Regions from separate parts of the Homo sapiens genome. Here region 1 is linked to region 2. The links are contacts of gene promoters, found by promoter capture Hi-C in human tissues and cell types (Jung and others, 2019). All regions are on one chromosome and are shown on one strand. The core of a region is centred on a gene start or on the middle of the fragment in contact, and the rest is flanking DNA. Distances in the headings are between cores, read along the strand shown. Region 1 has its middle 36 kb from the start of LINC02606. Region 2 holds the start of H6PD (hexose-6-phosphate dehydrogenase/glucose 1-dehydrogenase).

Evidence for each region. The method cuts DNA at HindIII sites, captures the fragments that hold promoters and counts their contacts. A contact is called where the count stands out against the background at its distance.
Region 1: a contact is called between a fragment that was not itself captured here and the fragment with the promoter of H6PD in region 2, in 1 of the 25 tissues and cell types used here (liver).

What each region holds. Positions count from the first base shown.
Region 1 is chr1:9,463,298-9,466,862 of GRCh38, reverse strand. No RefSeq gene overlaps it. Among named protein-coding and RNA genes, the nearest start is that of LINC02606, 36 kb to the right of the region's middle. The HindIII fragment of the contact is 9,148 bases long and covers 1-3,565 here.
Region 2 is chr1:9,233,344-9,237,204 of GRCh38, reverse strand. H6PD (hexose-6-phosphate dehydrogenase/glucose 1-dehydrogenase) reads right to left here and starts at 2,431. Exons shown (of 5, transcript NM_004285.4): 1 at 2,139-2,431. RefSeq lists a silencer at 2,019-2,578. The HindIII fragment of the contact is 6,904 bases long and covers 1-3,861 here.

The DNA.
Region 1 (3,565 bases), core at 828-3,327, 230 kb before region 2:
GGACTTGGGGCCCATCCTATGTGAGGTGTCCTCCATCACAGACACAGAGTCAGGCGCTGGGCCCCAGGAGGTCACTGTGGTGAAGGACGGCACAACTCACCTCTTCCACCACGAAAAAATCAGAGATGATGGCGCTGGCAGCTTCCATGTCTAGCCCAGCAAGCAGGCCAGAGAGGAGATGAAATCTTAGTTCAACAAAACTCTGCTTTTTAATTAAATTGCTTTTTTTTTTGTTTTAGACAGAGTCTTGCTCTGTTGTCCAGGCTGGAGTACAGCGATGTAATCTCGGCTCACTACAGACTGTGCCTCCTGCATTCAAGTGATTCTTGTGCCTCCTGAGTAGCTGGGATTACAGGGGTGCGCCACCACTCCTGGCTAACTTTTGAAGTTTTAGTAGGAAGGGGGTTTCGCCATGTGGTCAGGCTGGTCTTGAACTCCTGGCTTCAAGTGATCTGCTTACCTCGGCCTCCCAAAGTGCGGGGATTACAGGTGTGAGCCACCACACCCTGCCTAAATTACATTTTGTTTTATCTTATTTAATTTTTTTGTGGGGGAGAAGGATAGGAAGTGAGCGGTAGTGTGGCCAACCATCCCGGTTTGCCTGGGACTGGGAGGGTTCCAGGGCTACAGGACTTTCTGTACGGAAACCCAGAGACTAAGCAAACCAGACTGAGTTGGTCACTGTAGAGGGAGGGGACGTCCACAGAGTGGGAAGAAGCACAGGTTTCATGGTCAGCGTGCACAATTTGCCCCATGAAAATTAGGGAACCTCCCCAGGGTTTATCTCTAAAAGGCATATTTTGGGGAGTGGTGCAGGCAGGGGAGAGGGCAGATATTAGGGCATTGGGGCTCTGTGTGGGTGGCAGCACCAAGGGGACCTGCAGAAGAGGCTCCTCCACCCTGCACATCCCACCATCGGCCAGGAGGGGTGCGGGCCTGGGCTGCCAGATGGCTGATTTTTAAAAAAATGTTTGTGAAAGCTACCAAATTCTGAAACGTTGGCTCACACCTTCAGGACATCCTGTATAGGCCACACAAACACATCTGATTGCCAAGTTGGCCTCTGGGCAGCCGGTTTGCAACCTCTGCACCGTACCTTTTCTAAGTTTCCCGTCAGTTCTAGAGTTCAGCGACTATCCAAACTCCAGCCAGCCACACTCCCAGGCAATATGTGGTGTACTTTGAGGAAGAACGAACAAATACACGTGTTTTAAAAGCTGATGTCGGGCTGGCTGTGGTGGCTCACTCCTGTGATCCCAGCACTTTGGAAGGCATGAGCCACCATGCCCAGCCTAAATTGTACATTTTAAAGCGGTGAATTTTATGGTATATAAATTATATCTTGATTTAAAAATACACCGTGGCTCATGCCTGTAATCTCAGCATTTTGGGAGGCCGAGGCTGGTGGATTACCTGAGGTCAGGAGTTTGAGACCAGCCTGACCAACATGGCGAAACCCTGTCTCTACTAAAAATACAAAAAATTAGCCGGGCGTGGTGGCGCATGCCTGTAATCCCAGCCACTCAGGAGGCTGAGGCAAGAGAATCGCTTGAACCCGGGAGGTGGAGGTTGCAGTGAGCCAAGATTGTGCCATTGTACTCCAGCCTGGGTGACAGAGTGAGACTCCGTCTCAAAAAAAACAAAAAAAAAACCCCAAAAAATCATAAAAAACAAAAATATACCGTTCGGATGTTAATTCTCTCCAAAATTTCACTCCAAGTTGATCTACAGATATGTAACCCCAATTCCAGCAAGATTTTTTTTCTTTTTTTTTTTTTTTTAGAAATGAACAAAATTGAGTCAGGCGCAGTGGCTCACTCCTGTAGTCCCAGGACTTTGGGAGGCTGAGGCAGGCGGATCACCTGAGGTCAGGAGTTTGAGACCAGCCTGGTCAGTATGGTGAAATCCCATCTCTACTAAAAATACAAAAATTAGCCAGGCATGGTGGTGCACACCTGTAATCCCAGCTACTTGGGAGGCTGAAGCAGGAGAATAGCTTGAACCTTGGAGGCAGAGGTTGCAGTGAGCTGAGATCATGCCATTGCACTCCAGCCTAGGCAACAAAGCCAGACTCTGTCTCAAAAAAAAAAAAAAAAAAAAAGAGATGGACAAAATTGATTCCAAAATTCGAATGGAAATGCACAGGACATAGAATTGCCAAAACAACTTCGGTAAACAACAAAGTAGGAGGGCTTACACTATCTGATTTCAGGTCTTATTATATAGCTATGATAATCAAGGCAGTATGGTACTGATGTAAAGACAAATAGATAAATGGAACAGAATAGAGAACCCGGAAATAGACCCACATTAAAAAGTACAACAGATTTTCAACAAAGGTTCAAAGGCAATTCAGTGTGGCCGGGCGCAGTGGCTCACGCCTGTAATTCCAGCACTTTGGGAGGCTAAGGTGGGCAGGTGACTTGAGGTCAGGAATTCGAGACCAGCCTGGCCAACATGGAGAAACCCCGTCTCTACTAAAAATACAAAAATTAGCCAGGCGTGCCTGTAATCCCAGCTACTTGGGTGCCTGTAATCCCAGCTACTCGGGTGGCTGAGGCGGGAGAATCACTCAAACCCAGGAGGCAGAGGCTGTAGAGCCGAGATTGCACCACTGCACTCCAGCCTGGGCGACAGAGCAAAACTCTGTCTCAAAAACAAACAAACAAACAAAAAACAAAGGCAATTCAGTGGGAAAAGTATGGTCATTTCAACAAATGTGTTAGAACAACTGAATATCCATATGTGAAAAAATGAGTCTCGATTCACACCCTGTACCATATAAAAATATTAATTCAAAGTAGACCTAAATGGGCTGGGCGCGGTGGCTCACGCTTGTAATCCCAGCACTTTGGGAGGCTGAGGTGGGCGGATCACGAGGTCAGGAGATCGAGACCATCCTGGCTAACAGGGTGAAACCCCGTCTCTACTAAAAATACAAAAAATTAGCCAGGAGTTGTGGCGGGCGCCTGTAGTCCCAGCTACTCGGGAGGCTGAGACAGGAGAATGGTGTGAACCTGGGAGGCGGAGCTTGCAGTGAGCGGAGATCAAGCCACTGCTCTCCAGCCTGGGCGACAGAACGAGACTCCGTCTCAAAAAAAAAAAAACAAAGTAGACCTAAATGTAACTAAATGTAAGACTTAAAAGCACAAAACTTCTAGAAGAAAACATAGGAAAAAACTTTGTAACCTTGAGTTAGGCAAAGGTTCCTTAGATACAGTAGCAAAAGTATGATCCATTAAAGAACAAATAGAATTCTACTTAATGAAAAGTTAAAACTTTTTTTTTTTTTTTTTTTTGAGACAGAGTCTTGCTCTGTCACCCAGGCTAGAGTGCAGTGGTGCGATTTCAACTCACTGTAACCTCCGCTTCCCAAGTTCAAGCGATTCTCTTGCCTCAGCCTCCTCAGTAGCTGGGATTACAGGCACGTGCCACCACGTCTGGCTAATTTTTGTATTTTTAGTAGAGATGAGGTTTCACCATATTGGTCAGGCTGGTCTCGAACTCCTGACCTTGTGGTTTGCCTGCCTCAGCCTCCCAAAGTGCTGGGATTACAGGTGTGAGC
Region 2 (3,861 bases), core at 1,182-3,681:
GCTAGAGGTGATAGGATTTGAATACAGGCAGTCTGGTCCCAGAGCTAACCTTCCCGTAAAATGTGACTACATCCCTGAATGGCAAAATGTAAAACACTGTATTACATTTACACTGTATCAGTGTAGATACTGAACAGTGGTTTAAACCAGACAGGCTGTTTCTCTGCTCCATGAAGTCAAGCTGTTCCGAACACTAACTGCGGTAACCAGCCTCTGCCTCCCGGGTCCGCTTTGCCTTTCACAGTTCTTCCTTCTGACATCATGAAGACATCATGTATAAGCCTCAGTTGCTTTGTTGAAACGTGGAAGACCTTCAAGGGCTAGTTTTTGGAGAACTGGTTACATAAGAATATTCTGGATTCAAATCCCTGCCACTCAGTAACTATGTACCCTCAGACAAGTTATTTAACCTCTCTGTACCTCAACCACAGAATGGGAAAACAAATCGATGGGAAGCATGTAAGGTACTTAGCACAATGCCTGGCATACAGTAAGCACCCAAGAAATCCTAGCTGCTTTTTTTTTTTTTTTTTTTTAAGGAGAAGTCTAGCTTTGTCACCCAGGCTGGAGTGCAGTGGCACGATCTTGGTTCACTGCAACCTCCGTCACCGGAGGCAGGGCGGTTCAAGCGATTTTCCTGCCTTAGCCTCCCCAGCAGCTGGGATTACAGGCATCCGCTGCCCCCATGCCCAGCAAATTTTTGTATTTTTAGTAGAGACGGGGTTTCACCATGTTGGCAAGGCTGGTCTTGAACTCTTCAAGTGACCTGCCCGCCCTGGCCTCCGAAAGTGTTGGGATTACAGGCGTGAGCCACTGGGCCCGGCCAGAAATGTTAGTTTCTATCATTAAACCATTAGCTTCACGAATGAAGTCCTTCTTGCTAGCTTCTTGAACTGCTGTTAAAACCAACTAACCAGCTGGGCGCGGTGGTTCATGCCTGTAATCCCAGCACTTTGGGAGGCCGAGGTGGTGGATCACCTGAGGTCAGCAGTTCAAGACAAGCCTGGATAACATAGTGAAACCCTGTTTCTACTAAAAAATACATAAAATTAGCCGGGTGTGGTGGCACGCGCCTGTAATCCCAGCCACTCAGGAGGCTGAGGTGGAAGAATCGCTTGAACCAGGAGGAGAAGGTTGCAGTGGGCCGAGATCGCGCCATTGCACTCCAGCTTGGGCAACAACTAACCATCAACCACAGAAAAATGCCAAGGAAAAACTCAGACAGCTTTTCATGATCTTCCAATCATAATGATGAAAAATTAAAGGGATATGATGCATAATTTAAAATACGCTGTCTGGGCGTGGTGCTTCACACCTGTAATCCCAACACTTCGTAAGGCTTAAGCAGGAGGATCGCTTGAGCCCAGGAGTTCGAGACCAGCCAGGGCAACATAGTGAGACCACTGTCTCTACAAAAGGTTTAAAAATTAGCCAGGCGTGGTGGTGTGCGCCTGTGGTCCCAGCTACCCCGGAGGCTGAGGCAGGACGATGGCCTGAGCCCAAGAGGTGGAGGCTGCAGGGAACCGTGTTTGTGCCACTGTACTCCAGCCTGGGCAACCAAGCAAGACCCCATCTTTTATAAGTAAAAGATTTTTTACTTTTATATAAAAAAGTAAAAAGATAAAATAAAAAATATGCCCATTTGACACCAGTTTTCCCTCATCTGCTGCCTTTCATGAGCCATGGGCCTGTTGTGGGTGCAGGGGGAGTGGGCAAGGACACTTCTTTCCAGAAGTTCTCACTTCTGGCTAAGCATTCAAGGTTGGGTGAGCTGATTTTCAGAGATCCAGAGAGGTTTGCCCCTGGAAAACCGTTCACTAGATCCGGGTACGGGAAACGCTATGTGAAACCCGAGGGCCAATCAATGCCAAAGATTAAGCAGGTCCCGGGGGAAATCTCGGAGTTCCCCCTCTCCTGGAACTCAGTTCCGGGAAGCCCAGGGAAAGGACAGCTCGGCCGCTCGGGGCGACCCTGGAGGGAGCCTGGCCGCCTCCTGAGCAGTTCCAAAGCCGCCAGCCCCAGGCTCCGTGGGGCTGGCAGCGCAGGCTCCGGGGCTCGGCGCGGCCTCGGGCCCGGCGGCAGCGCGGGTTGGAGGCGCCGGGGCCGGGGCGGCGGCGGGGCCGGCGGGGGGCGCTTACTTCCTCTCGCGCGGCGGCGCAGGCCGCTCCTCCGGGACACGGCCGGGGCGGCGCTGAGGGCCGGGCCCGCTCCCGAGGGCTCCCCTGCGCCCTGGGCCGCACCTCCTCTTCCGCAGGGCCCGTCACTCCGACAAGTGCGCGTGTCACGCGGCCACGCGCCGCACGACACTCCGATACCGCCCGCGGAGCCCGCGGCGGCCGCAGGGGAAGGCGCGAGGCCAAGGCCAGCCCGGCCGCCACCCCGCCCCAGGCCTCAGGCCTCAGGCCTCCACCGCCTTGCGCTCAGCAAGACTGGGGCCCGGGCCGGGGGCGCGCGCGGCGGGGGCGCGCGCGGCGGGGGCGGGGGCGGGGCGGGGGCGCCGGCGAGGCCACGCCCTCCGCTGGCGGCCGCCGGGGCGGGGCCTCGGAGCTTCCGGGGCGAGGCGGTGGGTCAGCTCCGAGCCTCCGCCCCCGCCCTTCCCTTCGGCCCCCTGGTGGCCGTGCGTCCTAGAGCTGTCCTGCCGCGTCCGAGACGCGCGCGGGACCCAGAAGTGGCCGAGGGACGTGGTTGTGTCGTGGAGGGGACCCGGGGTGCTGGCTGCTCCCTACGATCTGGCACCCGCTCTGGGACTCCTCAGGCCTCGCTTTTCCCCATCTGTAGAATGAGCGGCTCGGTCTTTCCCGTCTTCAATATCCAGAGTAGGGATTTAGAAGTCGGAGCGCACACGCTGGCCACGCCTCCGCGCACAGCTTCAGATCTCTGCCACCCCTTATCACTTGTGTGACCCTGAGTTCAGTTTCTTCATCTGTACAGTGGGGACAATGGGAGTACCTGCCTCCGGGGTTGTCTGGCACTTGGGTGCTTAGTAAGCGGAAGCTTGGACCCGTGTGGCAAATAGAAGACTTTTGCTAAGACATTGCTAAGAAAGACAGCAAATGGAATCAGGGCTTCTCTGTAGGGTGAGAGGTATTTAAGTGAGAAAACGGGATCAGCTGCCTCTCAGAGCACTCAGTCCCCTTCCTGTCCCCCACCATTATCAGGCAGTAGGTGGCCCTCACCATGCTCCCCAACCTGCTCCCCACTTTTTCTTTTTTCTTTCTTTTCTTTTCTTTTTTTCTTTTTTTTTTTTTTTTTTTTTTTTGAGACAGGGTCTCGCTCTGTCACCCATGCTGGAGTGCAGTGGCGCTATCACAGCTCACTGCAGCCTCCGCCTCCCAGGCTCAAGTGATCCTCCCGCCTCAGCCTCCCAAGTAACTGGGATCACAGATGTTCGCCACCACTCCTGACTAATTTTTCAACTTTTTGTAGAGACGGGGTCTCACTTTGTTGCCCAGGCTGGTCTCGAACTCCTGGGCCCAAGTGATTCTCCCACGTTGGCCTCCCAAAGTGCTGGGAGGAGATTCTGACCTGAGAGAGAAACTGTGCTGCAGCTTTTTATTTCCCGATGGTTCCATTAGAGGTGGGAGCGTCTGGAACTAGCAGTGGCAACTTGGCAGTGGCCGGCAGGACTGAATGGGGCCAACAGGCATGATTACCACACAGGATGTTAGGCAAGGGGTTCCGGGAAGGCTGGGAACTGAGGGGAGCTGGGCCTCACCGTCACCAAGGCCAGAGGCCATCCGGGCGCCCGCAGAGGGCTGCCAAGCCTCGGCAAGGATTTAGGTCACACTGAGTGGGCCTGGCAGAGGGGGGAGCCAGGGAGCCAGGCACTCTCTGGGCTACCTCCACAGCTGGAAGTGAGCA